2 separate regions of the Homo sapiens genome follow, and region 1 is linked to region 2. Evidence: promoter capture Hi-C in human tissues and cell types (Jung and others, 2019). All regions are on one chromosome and are shown on one strand. The core of a region is centred on a gene start or on the middle of the fragment in contact, and the rest is flanking DNA. Distances in the headings are between cores, read along the strand shown. Region 1 overlaps LINC02689 (long intergenic non-protein coding RNA 2689). Region 2 holds the start of KRTAP5-1 (keratin associated protein 5-1).

Evidence for each region. Contacts are between HindIII fragments. The study calls those that stand out against the background at their distance.
Region 1: a contact is called between a fragment that was not itself captured here and the fragment with the promoter of KRTAP5-1 in region 2, in 3 of the 25 tissues and cell types used here (small bowel, spleen and thymus).

The regions. Positions count from the first base shown.
Region 1 is chr11:1,356,663-1,363,588 of GRCh38, reverse strand. LINC02689 (long intergenic non-protein coding RNA 2689) reads right to left here. Exons shown (of 5, transcript XR_930972.2): 2 at 2,781-2,874; 3 at 742-911; 4 at 572-635; 5 at 1-28. Among named protein-coding and RNA genes, the nearest start is that of LINC02689, 9.8 kb to the right of the region's middle. RefSeq lists enhancers at 3,353-3,852, 3,853-4,354. The HindIII fragment of the contact is 4,928 bases long and covers 1-3,878 here.
Region 2 is chr11:1,582,516-1,589,788 of GRCh38, reverse strand. KRTAP5-1 (keratin associated protein 5-1) reads left to right here and starts at 4,506. Exons shown (of 1, transcript NM_001005922.1): 1 at 4,506-5,447. The coding sequence starts at 4,540. The coding sequence ends at 5,376. All of the region lies in intron 1 of KRTAP5-AS1 (KRTAP5-1/KRTAP5-2 antisense RNA 1), which reads right to left. The HindIII fragment of the contact is 15,838 bases long and covers 1-7,273 here.

The DNA.
Region 1 (6,926 bases), core at 165-2,664, 220 kb after region 2:
GATGGAGGGCACCGCATCTTGGAAGGCTCTGTGGACCAAGATAGTGGTGCAAGTTGCTCTCATTGAACAGGCTGCCTGAGTGTTGGCAACCAGGTAGCAGCTCCAGCACAATGGGGTGTCCTGGTCTCAATGGGTGACAGGGCCAGGGCAGCAACTGTGTCCTTCACCCTGTAGGACTTTGGGGAATGTCTAACTGATTGAAGTGTCCCCAGGACTAAAACACGTAAGTAGCCTGCCAAAGTGTTCTCTGGTCTCTGTCTTAGTCTGTTTGGGCTACCATAACAAAAATATCATTAAAGATCTGGGTGGCTTATAAATGACAGAAACATGTCTCACAGTTCTGGAGGCTGGAAGTGCAAGACCAAGGTGCCAGCTGTGTTTGGTGGAGGCCAGTTTCCTCTCAGACAGCAACTTCCGGCTGCACCCGTACATGGGGCAAACAAGGCTCCCATGGGCCCCTTTCATAAGGGCACCAATCCATTTATGAGGGCTCTGCCCCCATGACCTTGCCACCTCTTGAAGGTCCCACCTCCCAACACCATCACCTTGGTGATTAGGTTTCAATACCTACCTTTCGAGGAGGACACAAGCATTCAGACCATGGCAATCACTGTAAGTGACAAAACCCTGTAGGTCTGGTGAACAGAGAAATGGCGTCAGCCAGCATGGTGGAGAATCCTGGCTTTTCCCCATATCCCAGAACTGAGCAGCTCAGAACCCCTGAATGCCGGGGGACCAGACCTCCTTACAGAAGGGCTCTGAGATACCACTGGCCCCACGATTGTGGGCCAGTCAGAGCGGGTGGGATGCTCGGCTCAGAGGTGCTGCCTAGCCATTCTCCAGGGCGAACTGTTTCCTTCCTTCCATCTGCAGCCACGCTGCCAAAGGGCTGCAGACTTCTTCAGAGAAATCTAGGAGAAAGATTTACAGTGCATACTGGCAACGGTATCCTGGATTCCTCTTTTTTTGTTTGTTTGTTTGAGACAGAGTCTTGCTCTGTCGCCCAGGCTGGAGTGCAGTGGTGTGATCTTGGCTCATCGCAGCCTCTGTCCCCCAGGTTCAAACAATTCTCCTGTCTCAGCCTCCCGAGTAGCTGTGACTGCAGGCGTGCGCCACCATGCCCGGCTAATTTTGTATTTTTAGTAGAGACAGGGTTTCACCATGTTGACCAGGCTGGTCTCAAACTCCCAACCTCAGGTGATCCACCCGCCTCAGCCTCCCAAAGTGCTGGGATTACAGGTGTGAGCCACTGTGCCCAGCCGATATCTCAGCTTCCTATCACATCGTTTTGCTTCACCTCTTTGGCCTGTGAAGGACAGAGGTGGATTTTGGAGAGTGACTGTGGATGGCTGCAAACACAATCGGGTGGGGACTCCAATTGCATCTGCCCCTCCAGATGTACCTCGTGTGATGGAACACCCAGCCATGGCTTCCATGAGGAAACTCATCTGACCAACGTTTCCTTCCACACACAACAGCTGAGCCACAGGGGAAGGCTACTTTCACCTGGCAGGGACAGCAATACACCCCGGCTCGTGCTTCTCAGAACTGTGCCCATCGTCCATCCCTTTGTCAAAATATAGACCTCAGGGCCCTTGACCATCTCAGTCCTGGCCATCCCATGGGACAAAGTGCCAGTTCACTATGCCGATGGTGTAATGGAGATCAGACCTGGTGGCAGGAAGTAGTAAATACTCTAACTGTCTTAGTAAGGCCCTTTCGTGCCTCCATAGTAGGAGACGCACCTCACAAAATGAAGGATTCTGTCATTTCAGTGAAATTTCTAGACATCCTGTGGTCTGGGATATATGAAGATATGTGCCCCCAGCCAGGCATGGGCTCACACCTGTCATCCCAGCACTCTGGGAGGCCATGGCAGGAGGATCGCTTGAGCCCAGGAGTTCAAGGCTGCAGTGAGCTGTGATGGCACCACCACACTCCAGCCTGGGCAACAGAGTGAGACCTTGTCTCAACAATAATGATTAATAATAATAATAATAAGATACTTGACCCAACTTCCTGTTCTTTGCACTAAGAAGGTGGCACAATGCTGCTTGGTAGGCCTTTTTAGACCCCAGAGAGCTCATGCACCATATTGAAGCAGGCTGCTTCGACCATATGGAAGCCTCCGAGGCTGTCAGTTTTGAAGGGGCCTACAGCAGCAGAAGGCTCTGTAGCAGGTCCAGGCTGCCATCAGGCACCTCTGCACGCGTGTCTCAGCAAATCAGACGGTGACAACAGGTCCGTGTCAGACAGGGATGCCGTGTGGAGCTTCCGACAAACCCTTCAGAAGAATCCCAGCTCAGCCACCCAGCGTTTTGGAGAAAAATCATGCCCTCTTCTGAAAGTAACCATTTTCCTTTGGAGACCCAGCTCCTGGCTTTCCACTGGGCCTCGGAAGAGATGGAAGTGTCAGATGACCACGTGACCTACCGGTCATGAATGAGGCAATGCAAGATTCACCAAGCATTAAAGCTTACCGTTCCCAGCATCCCTCCACCGTCACTTGGGGTGGAGACTATGGCACAGTCTCTGGGAGGGCCTGGGACTGCACTCCTCCCACTCGTTCAGGTGGCCGCCCATCTGTGCCATGCACCCACGTCCACGGCACCCAGGCCCACGGCACCCAGGCCCACAGCACCCACGTGCACAGCACCCACGTCCACAGCACCCAGGCCCACAGCACCCACACCCAGACATTGCCATTTCTCCCTCCACAAGCACCAGTGCCTTCCAGGGCAATTCCCAGCCACCAGGGGAGTGAGGAATCAAACACTCACACTCAGTTTCCAGGTAGGTCCAGACAGTTCCAGACAACACTGGCACCAGCTGAGAGCACACGGGGCAATGCTGCAGCCTCATCTGGGGATGGCCCTGTAGGGAGGCAGGACAGGGGCGTCGTCCTAGCGAGCAGCGCTTGGGGCGGCCTCACTGGCTGTGTCCTGTGCCTGGACAAGAGGACAGGACCAGACCTCTTCAGGGGATGTGGCTAACGGTTTGCCGGATGGTCCGGGACTTGGAAGCCATCTGTTTGAAAGGTTGATGACAAGGAGGCTGGGGAGAGACTTGTGGACGAACCTTTCCAGAGGGGCACAGGACGTGGGGATATTTGCGTGTCCACGGAGGAGGCTCATCACAGCCAGCTGAACACACGGCTTGTTTTGGGGATGTCACCAGCCACCCCAGGCATGCTTGATGGCTCCTGGGCAGTGCCCACAGCAGTGAGCATGGAAGCTGCGCCCAGCCTCAGACATGGGCCCCCCACCACGGCCAAAAGCCCAACAACCAACAGCAGAGAGCCAGAGCTGTGGGCCTGAAACTGCACTGTTCCCCACGGGATGAGCCGGTCACGGGGGGAGGTTGGTTTCACTGGACCCCTCCATCAGGGAGGGTGCAACGATGTGTCCCGGTTGGAATAGACGCTTCCTCTGGACATGAGTTTCTGTCCCTGGTCATGGCACTTCTGCCGACACCACATGCAGAGTCTGAGCAGCTGTCATGGTCCTCCACAAAGCATTAGCTGCGACCCAGGGCCCCATTCCACAGAGGAAAGGGAGAGAAAGGGCTCAGGCCCATGCGTTCCCTTGCTGTACCTGGGCCACGTCACCCCCATCATGGGCTGTTGAAGGCTCACTTGTGTGACAATGTGTGACAGCTGTCTACAGGACGAGGCCTCTGGAGGGTGTGGTCCCACAAGGTGGGCCAGGTCCATGTGTGATGTTCTCCCAGAGCCGGGACACGTAGGCCCAGGGTGGTTCCCTGCACCATGGCCCTAGTGACGCACCGGCTAAGCCCATGCTCCCCGCGTCAGCACGTCTGGGTTTTGCAGGTGCTGAGGTGGTGCGGAGTATTCACGTCACACACACGCTTCCCCTGAAGGGGACGCCTGGACAGCCACAGGCCCAGGAGTCCTCTTGCCACCAGAGCAGTAGACCTCCTGCTGGGGCAGCGGGCTCAGGCGGCCAAGGACAGTCAGGACGGCTCCTTCAAGGGAGCAGCGGGAGGAGGCTGAGCCTGGAGTCTCCCCAAGACCACCTGGAAGCCAAAGTTCATGAATGACATTTTGTTGTTTTTATGTTTTGCTATTTTTTTTTTTTTGAGACAGAGTCTCGCTCTGTCGTCCAGGCTGGAGTGCAGTGGTGTGATCTCAGCTCACTGCAACCTCTGCCTCCTGGATTCAGGTGATTCTCCTGCCTCAGCCTCCTGAGTAGCTGGGATTACAGGCGCCCGCCACCACGCCTGGCTAATTTTTGTATTTTTAGTAGAGACGGGGTTTCACCATGTTGGCCAGGATGGTCTCAAACTCCTGACCTCAGGTGATCCGTCCGCCTCGGCCTCCCAAAATGCTGGGATTACAGGCATGAGCCACTGCGCCCGACCATGGATGGCATTTTGGAACAACCCCAAAGAAAAGGACGAATAACGGCTCAGTCCCTTTGAGAACACAATGGCTATGGAGCCACGGACAGGACACCGTGCCGTGCAGAGGCGGCGGCGGGGCTGGGGCAGCCACGCACGTTTTCTCCTCCCACCACTTCCCCTCCTTGAGCCCTTCCCTGCTGTTTTACATGGGGTGTGGTCAGCATTTATTTATTTACTTATTTATTTATTTTATTTTTCCATAAGTTATTGGGGTACACGTGGTATTTGGTTCCAGGAGTGAGTTCTTGAGCTCTGATCTGCGAGATCCTCGTGCACTCATTACCTGAGCAGTATACACTGCACCCTATTTGTTGTCTTTTATCCCTCGCCCCCTCCCATTCTTCCCCTCCAAGTCCCCAAAGTCCACTGTATCATTCTTATGCCTTCGCGTCCTCACAGCTTAGCTCCCACATATCAGTGAGAACACACAATGTTTGGTTTTCTGTGGTCAGCTTTTAAACTTGGTATCTGATTTACAGGATGGCAAGAGAGGACCAGTGTTGACCTAGAAAAGCAGCTCGCCTGGACTGGAGGTTGCCACACCGACTCACAGGCCTCTGTTTACCCGTGCGGGGGGATGGCAGGTGGGCCTCACTGGAGAGCCGTCGCTGGGGGGCAGCAGCCGGGTGGCGTGGGCCTCACTGGAGAGCCATAGCCAGGAGGGAGCAGCCGGGTGGCGTGGGCCTCACTGCAGAGCCGTCGCCGGGAGGGAGCAGCCGGGTGGCCTTACAGGAAGTCTTCACTCTGCAGCAGGGCAGGCCTGGCCAGTGACCAGAAGCAGGCCGTGCTGGCCTGTTTGCTGGTCACAGCCCTGCACACCCCCACCCTCATGTGCTTTCCTCCCACAGCGCAGGAGAAGCTTGGACTACACCACTTGGGATGTCTTTCCTGAATGGTTCTGGGTCAGCCTCTGCCCGTGGCATCATCCAGGAGCCCTGAGTGTGGCGGCAGCATCTTCTGAGCCTGTGCCTGGTGCTGCACAAAGCAGGGGCCAGGCAGCAACTCCCCTGCCTCTCCTGTCCAGAGCCCACCTTCCCAGGTCTCCCGAAAGCCTCTCAACCTCTGTGCTCCCTACAATCCAACAGTTGAGTTCCTCGGGGAAGTGGAGAAGGAATCGGAAGACTGAGGAGTGCAGAAGGTTGGGTGGAGCTCAGGCATGACCAGCTCACCCGCCCGAGTCTCCCAGGAGATAGTCACTCCATGGCCCAGCCTTGTGATTTGCCACAAAAACAGTGCAAAAAGAAAAACCACATGTCAATTTCAATAGAGGCAAGATAAATACTTGATAAAATTCAACAGTATTTTAAGATAAAACTCTTACCAAACTAGGAATAAAATAATTTTTTTAACTTTATAAAAGGAATACGCAAAAAAAACCAAAAAAAAACAAAAAAAAACAAAGCACAGCAACCATCACAATTACACATTTTTAAATAAAATCAGGAATGAGACAACTCACCCTCACTGCCTCTAACCCACAAAGAACTTGAGGACCCACTCACCACCAGACAAGAAAAAGCAACAACGGGCCGGGCGCGGTGACTCATGCCTGTAATCCCAGCACTTTGGGAGGCCGAGGCGGGTGGATCATGAGATCAGGAGATCAAGACCATCCTGGCTAACATGGTGAAACCCCGTCTCTACTAAAAATACAAAAAAATTAGCCGGGCGTGGTGGCGGGCGCCTGTAGTCCCAGCTACTCGGGAGGCTGAGGCAGGAGAAGGGCATGAGCCCGGGAGGCAGAGCTTGCAGTGAGCCGAGATCGCGCCACTGCACTCCAGCCTGGGTGACAGAGAGAGACTCCATCTCAAAATAAATAAATTAATAAATAAATAAAATAAATTTTAAAAAGAAACAATGGATATTAAAAATTGGAAACAAAGAAACTAAACTATGTATTGAGGAAATGATTACTTACAAAAAATACTGCAATCCACAAATTATGAGAATTAAAATAGTTTAACAAGATGCTCCAATCTAGAAATCAACATTCGAAAGTCATTTGCAGTTTTCTATATGGGCATCAAACACAAATGTGAAAATTCAAACCCCAAAATAAAAAATACTTAGGAATAAACCTAACAAAATACATATAAGATCTGTGAGCAGAAAATTATTAAAGTTTAATGAAAGACTTCAAAGAAGACCAGAGAGAGAGAGACAGAGTGAGAGAGAGCAAGAGAGAGACAGCATGAGAGAGCGAGAGAGAGGGAGAGACACAGAGAGAGAGCGAGAGAGACAGAGAGAGAGAGAGAGCAAGAGAAACAGAGAGAGAGAGAGACAGAGAGAGAGCCACAGAGAGCATGAGAGAGCGAGAGAGAGAGACACAGAGAGAGCGAGAGAGAGCGACAGAGAGAGCAAGAGAGAGAGCGAGAGAGACAGAGAGAGAGAGAGCCACAGAGAGAGTGAGAGAGAGCAACAGAGAGAGAGCATGAGAGAGTGAGAAACACAGAGAGAGAGCGAGAGAGACAGAGAGAGAGAGAGCAAGAGAAACAGAGAGAGCG
Region 2 (7,273 bases), core at 3,257-5,756:
CCTCCATGTGAAAATGCAGGCTGTCTACTGATGAATGCTCGGGAGGAGCAGGAAACAAGCCACCTCCATGTGAAAATGCAGGCTGTCTACTGATGAATGCTCGGGAGGAGCAGGAAACAAGCCACCTCCATGTGAAAATGCAGGCTGTCTACTGATGAATGCTCGGGAGGAGCAGGAAACAAGCCACCTCCATGTGAAAATGCAGGCTGTCTACTGATGAATGCTCAGGAGGAGCAGGAAACAAGCCACCTCCATGTAAAAATGCAGACTGTCTACTGATGAATGCTTGTGAGGGAACTTCCGGAGGATGTTTTCAGGAAGAAGGAAGCTGAGCCCGGAAGGAAGAAGTATGGTGTAAGCAAGAACCACGCCTAGAGTTGTTGGTGGATGTGTGGCAAGTTTAAGCAAATACTGACTATAAATAAACAATGATGAGCAATGTGAGAGGAGCTAAGACGCTGGAGAAACTCCCACAGCTGACACCGGAGGGGCTGGGCAGGGGAAGAAGCTGTCCCCAGCTCCCTGCACAACTCTCAGCAGGGGAGGAATAGAGGGCCATCACGTGTAGACAACATTTGTTTAAAAATACACATGAAATGCATAAGGTTGCTGCTAAAAACAGGAATAGTGTATATAACTTCTAAGTCAGTCAAAGCAAAACAAAATAAAAACAAAAACAGAACCTTAAAAACTCCATCTAAAAGAAGAGGGGAAGGAAGCACTACCACAGGATGGTGAAATGCAAAGGGTGGTGGGAAGCAGCCCACGTATGTCAGAAATCACAGCAAACCCCACAGGCTTAGCTCATCGGGTAAAGAACAGAGACCCCAAAATATGGGAGCTTTTAAAGCAGCCCCACAGTAGTTACCTCACCCAGAAGCTTGCAGAAAGGCTGAAAGAAGCTGAATGAAAATGACTGCAGAAAAGGGAGGGAGGGAGGGAGGGAAGGAAGGAGGGACAGATAGAAAGCCCAGATGGCAGTGACTCTCTATCGCACGCCTCCTGGCCTGACAGTCCACGTCCAGCAGACAGTCACGCACCCCAGCACCCGCATGTTTAGAAAGTGCAAAAAGAACAATGGAGAAAATAAAGATATGAGCAGAACTAAATAAAAATGTTTAACACATACAACAAACAGAATCAACAAAATCAAAAGCTGGTCTTTCAAAAGACAAAGAAAATCAACAATATTTAGCAAAACCAATGAGGAAAAAAAGGGTCGGGCAGGAGAAAGAGCATGTATAACCTGAAGCAGGGATGAAAAACGGCAAATAGGCTGGGCACGGTGGCTCACGCCTGTAATCCCAGCACCGTGGGAGGCCAAGGCAGGTGGATCACCTGAAGCCAGGAGTTCGAGACCAGGCTGGCCAACATGGCAAAACCCTATCTCTACTAAAAATACAAAAATTAGCCAGGCATGATAGCAGGTGCCTATAATCCCAGCTACTCGGGAGGCTAAGGCAGGAGAATTACTTGAACCCGGGAGGCAGAGGTTGTGGTGAGCCGAGATCACACCACTGTACTCCAGCCTGGGTGACAGAGTGAGACCCTGCCATAAAAAAAAAAGAAAGAAAAGAAAGCAAATAATGACAAATTTAGCAGCTATTAAAAATAACAGGCTACTAAGCCAGGCGTGGTGGCACACGGTAGGGATTTGTAGTAGTCAAATGTGGTAGTCTGTAGTAGTCCCAGCTACTTCAGAGGCTGAGGACCACTTGAGGCCAGGCGTGAGTTCGAGACTGCAGTGAGCTATGATGGTGCCTGTGAACGGCCACTGCACCCCAGCCTGGACAACATAGCAAGATCCCATCTTCAAAAACAGAGGCAACTATGAAAAGTACATCCCAATAAATTTGAAAAACTTAGAATAAATGACATCTATGTTAAGAAGAAACACAGGAGGATGAGGCAGGAGAATTGCTTGAACTCGGAGGCAGAGGTTGCAGTGAGCCGAGATCACACCACTGCACTCCAGCCTGCGCAACAGAGCGAGACTCTGTCTCAAAAAAAAAAAAAAAAAAAAGAAGAAGAAGAAGAAGAAGAAACAAAAGGCTGGGCGCTGTGGCTCTCGCCTGTAATCCCAGCACTTTGGGAGGCTGAGGCAGGTGGATCATGAGGTCAGGAGACCAGCCTGGCCAACACGGTGAAACCCTGTCTCTACTAAAAATACAAAAATTAGCTGGGTGTGGTGGCACGTGCCTGTAATCCCAGGGGAGACTGAAGCAGGAGAATTGCTCAAACCAGGGAGTCAGAGGCTGCAGTGAGCCGAGACCATGCCACTGCACTCCAGCCTGGCAACAGAGCAAGACTCCATCTCAAAATAAAAGAATCCAGAAAATTCAAAGAACTTCAGACACCAATAAAAATAATAATGATCTTGGCCAGGTGTGGTGGCTCACACCTGTAATCCCAGCACTCTGGGAGGCCGAGGTGGGTGGATCACTTGAGGTCAGGAGTTCAAGACCAGCCTGACCAACATGGTGAAACCTTGACTCTACTAAAAATACAAAAATTAGCCAGGTGTGGTAGCACATGCCCGTAATCCCAGATACTCGGGAGGCTGAGGCAGGAGAATTGCTCGAGCATGGAAAGCGGAGGTTGCAGTGAGCCGAAATCGCACCATTGCGCTACAGCCTGGGAGACAGAGCAAGACTCTCCATCTCAAAAATTAATAATAATAACTATCTCAATTTTGTAAAGTGGGCCAAGGACGTGAAATTAACGAGACTCTAATGACAGGTGACCATATGGAAAGAGGCACAGCATGGCTAGTAACCAGGAAGAGGGAATATTAAACCACAGTGTGTAACACTGTGTTACACACCCACATGAAGGGTGTAAGTTGACAGTTGCAAGTTTTGGTGGGGGTGCCAGGAAACAGGAGCTCTCTGGCAATGCTGGTTGGACAGCAGCTGGCTGGGGGGATCCCTTGGGAAGACAGCTTGGTAACAAGAACCTCCTGACTTTCAGGCACCCACACCTGCAGGAGGGGTTTTGGGCAAGAAAGTTGCAGCTTGCTTGAAATAGCAACAAAAAGGAAACAAAAGGTCCATCAACAAGTAAATGGATAAGTCAATGTATATTTAGAAATCAGAGAAAACAAATAAATTAAAACCATATGTATCCCTAGAGAAAATCTCTTTAGCCTAACACCTATTTTTTTCAAAAGCAATTTACAGAAAGAGAAATACAGTGTAATACCCATTACATAAAGTTTTCAGCATGTAAAATTTTTTTTTCTTTTTTCTTTTCTTTTTTTTTTTTTTTTTTTGAGATAGAGTCTCACTCTGTTGCCCAGGCTGGAGTGCAATGGCGTGATTTCAGCTCACTGCAACCACTGCCTCCCAGGTTCAAGCGATTCTCCTGCCTCAGCCTCCCGAATAGCTGGGATTACAGGCACATGCCACCATACCTGGTTAATTTTTGTATTTTTAGTAAAGACGAGGTTTCACCATGTTAGTGAGGCTGGTCTCAAACTCCTGGACTCAAATGATCCGCCCACCTCAGCCTCCCAAAGTGCTGAAATTACAGGTGTGAGCCACCGCGCCTGGCCACAAAACATTTTTAAAGGAACATACATATTAAGTAGGAGTGTGAGGACCTTCATGAGAGTGGTGAATTCCAAATTCAAGAAATTATTAGGGTGGGACAGAAACAATATGGAGAGATGGAGGAACAGAGACTTCATTTATTTATGCCATTTTTTCCCAAGTTGAGTAGGGTTTTTTTTTACATTTTTTAAATATATTACTCTTTATACCATCGTTCAACTAAAATAGATCACTTTTTTTTTTTTTTTGAGACAGAGTCCCGCTCTGTTGCCCACACTAGAGTGCAGTGGTGTGATCTCTGCTCACTGCAACCTTCACCTCTGGGTTCAAGCCATTCTCCTGCCTCAGCCTCCCAAGTAGCTGGAGTTACAAGCATGCACCACCATGCCTGGCTAATTTTTGTATTTTTAGTAGAGATGGGGTTTTGCCATGTTGGGCAGGCTGGTCTCCAACTCCTGACCTCAAATGATCCACCTGCCTCGGCCTCCCAAAGTGCTGGGATTACAGATGTGAGCCACCACACCCAGTTAATTTTTGTGTTTTTAGTAGACACGAGATTTCACCATTTTGGCCAGGCTGGTCTCCAACCCCTCACCTCAAGTGATCCACCTGCCTAGGCCTCCCAAAGTGCTGAGATTACAGGTGTGAGCCACCATGCCCAGCCTAAAATAGATGCTTTTGTAAATCCAGTGTGACTCTGGAGTCAACAGGGAGAGGCTAGACCCTTGGGGGCCTCCATTAAGTCTGGACACAGATTCAGCAAGAGAGCAGCAGCCCACTGAGCAGCCCATACACCAAGGGGCGGATTTCTAGAGGAAACAAGAAAAAGGGGCCCTAAAAATGGCACAAACAGGAACCAGGAAATGTGTGCCCAGCCTCACACATGACCCTGGGCAGGGATATAAAGGGTCCAGGCTCAGGGAGCTCCACACCTGCACCTCCCTCTCACCTGCTCCTCTACCTGCTCCACCCTCAATCCACCAGAACCATGGGCTGTTGCGGCTGCTCCGGAGGCTGTGGCTCCAGCTGTGGGGGCTGTGGCTCCGGCTGTGGGGGCTGTGGCTCCGGCTGTGGGGGCTGTGGCTCTGGCTGTGGAGGTTCTGGCTCCAGCTGCTGTGTGCCCGTCTGCTGCTGCAAGCCCGTGTGCTGCCGTGTGCCAACCTGTTCCTGCTCCAGCTGTGGCAAAGGGGGCTGTGGCTCTTCTGGGGGCTCCAAGGGGGGCTGTGGCTCCTGTGGAGGCTGCAAGGGGGGCTGTGGCTCTTGTGGGGGATCCAAGGGGGGTTGTGGCTCCTGTGGGGGCTCCAAGGGGGGCTGTGGCTCTTGTGGGGGATCCAAGGGTGGCTGTGGTTCCGGCTGTGGGGGATGTGGCTCCAGCTGCTGTGTGCCTGTCTGCTGCTGCAAGCCCATGTGCTGCTGTGTGCCAGCTTGTTCCTGCTCCAGCTGTGGCAAAGGGGGCTGTGGCTCCTGTGGGTGCTCCAAGGGGGCCTGTGGTTCTTGTGGGGGCTCCAAGGGGGGCTGTGGCTCCTGTGGAGGCTGCAAGGGGGGCTGCGGTTCTTGTGGGGGATCCAAGGGGGGTTGTGGCTCCGGCTGTGGGGGCTGTGGCTCCGGCTGCGGTGTGCCCGTGTGTTGCTGTTCCTGTTCCAGTTGTGGCTCTTGCGCGGGGTCTAAGGGAGGCTGCGGGTCATCCTGCTCCCAGTGCAGTTGCTGTAAGCCCTGCTGCTGTTCCTCAGGCTGTGGGTCATCCTGTTGCCAATCCAGCTGCTGCAAGCCCTGCTGCTCCCAGTCCAGTTGCTGTGTCCCCGTGTGCTGCCAGTGCAAGATCTGATTTCTGGCTTTGCAGGACTCTTACCATGGCCAGGCATTCCTGCCCAGCCTTTACCTCCTTTTCCTGGCACCCAGTGAGCCAGACTCTCCTTCCCCACCCACTACCCTATCTCCCACCCTCCTGCCTTGCCAAGCATGAACACTTCTCTTTGACCTTCTACCAAGAAATGCCATGGGCCCATGCATCCAAGAAGAATGACTTTCAAGGCCTCCCTTCCAGGCATCTGGAGACCAGCCCCCCACCGCCCCAGCCACCTGCAGCAAATGCCTATCCGCAAGCCCTGCCTGCTGGCACCACATCCAGCACGGACAGCCCTGCAGGACAGCCCAGGGTGCTTGCTCACTCTGCAGTCACTAGGAGTTCAGATCTCTGTCCTTTAAACATCCAATAAACCGCTCACCCCAGCACCCCATAGCTGTCTTGGTATATTTATGTTTATTTCCCTCTCGAGGCAGGTGGGGGGCATCTGTGGCTACACTGGGTCCCCTGGGAACCACACACACACACACACACACACACACACACACACACACCGGCCCTGAACCAAACCGGAGCAGGCAGGTGGGCGCCCTGGCCAGCAGGGATCCTGGATACATGGTGGCGGTCAGAGGCAGGAGCACCAGCAGCCACCTGGCTCAGCCCCTTGCCGTGCAGCCTCTACCACACCCTCTCAGCATCTGGCTCAGGGCGGGGGTGCCTTGCCTTGATCAGGCAAAAGCAATCACTAGGGGGTCATCATGGCCTGTTACCACGCGGTCTTATTCTCTTTGGGCTGATGTAACAGAACACCATGGACTGGCATGTACAACAGAAGTGTATTTCTCAGGGTTCTGGAAGCTGGCAGTCTGAATTAAAGATGCCGGCGGCCAGGTGCGGTGGCTCATGCCTGTAATCCCAGCACTTTGGGAGGCCGAGGGGGGCGGATCACCAGGTCAGGAGATTGAGACCATCCTGGCTAACACGGTGAAACCCCCCTCTCTACTAAAAATACAAAAATTTAGCCGGGCATGGTGGCAGGCGCCTGTAGTCCCAGCTACTCAGGAGACTGAGGCAGGAGAATGGTGTGAACCCGGGAGGCGGAGGCTGCAGTGAGCCGAGATCGCGCCACTGCACTCCAGCCTGGGCTACAGAGCAAGATTCCGTCTCAAAAAAAACAAAAAACAAACAAAAAAAGCCAGAAGAATGCAAATATGACATTCCAGAGGGGATGTATATGGAAGGTCAGCAATCCCATTGCAGCAACCAGAGAAGGCCACATTAATTACAGAACTCAGATGGTAAAATAAATAAATAAATAAATAAATAAATAAATAAATAAATAACTTCAGGAAATCCTACCGTATGTATCTTACCACAATTTTTTTTTTCTGAGATGGAGTCTCACTCTGTTGCCCAGGCTGGAGTGCAGTAGTGTGATCTCCACTCACTGCAACCTCTGCCTCCTGGGTTCAAGCTATTCTCCTGCCTCAGCCTCCTGAGTTTCTGGGACTACAGGCATGAGCCACCATGCCCAGCTAATTTTGTTTTGTTTGTATTTTTAGTAGAGATGGGGTTTCACCATGTTGGCCAGGCTGGTCTCAAACTCCTGACCTCAAGTGATCTACCTGCCTCACCCTCCCAAAGTGCTGGGATTATAGGCGTCAGCCACTGCATCCGGCCCACAATTTTGAAATACCGGAAAAATGTATCTATAAAAAAGACATTGGAGAACTGTAGAAGCAACAAGAACCAGATGAAAACATTCAGAGAGAGCCCTTCCAAGATGAGCTGAATGTCGGCTTCTCTCCCTTTAAGGAATTAACCAGTGCTGGGTATGAGCTGAGCCTCGGTCCCACTGGGGAAGAGGAATTCTACTGGGAGAAATACCCAGCAGGGCTCTTGGCAACCACAGGGGCTG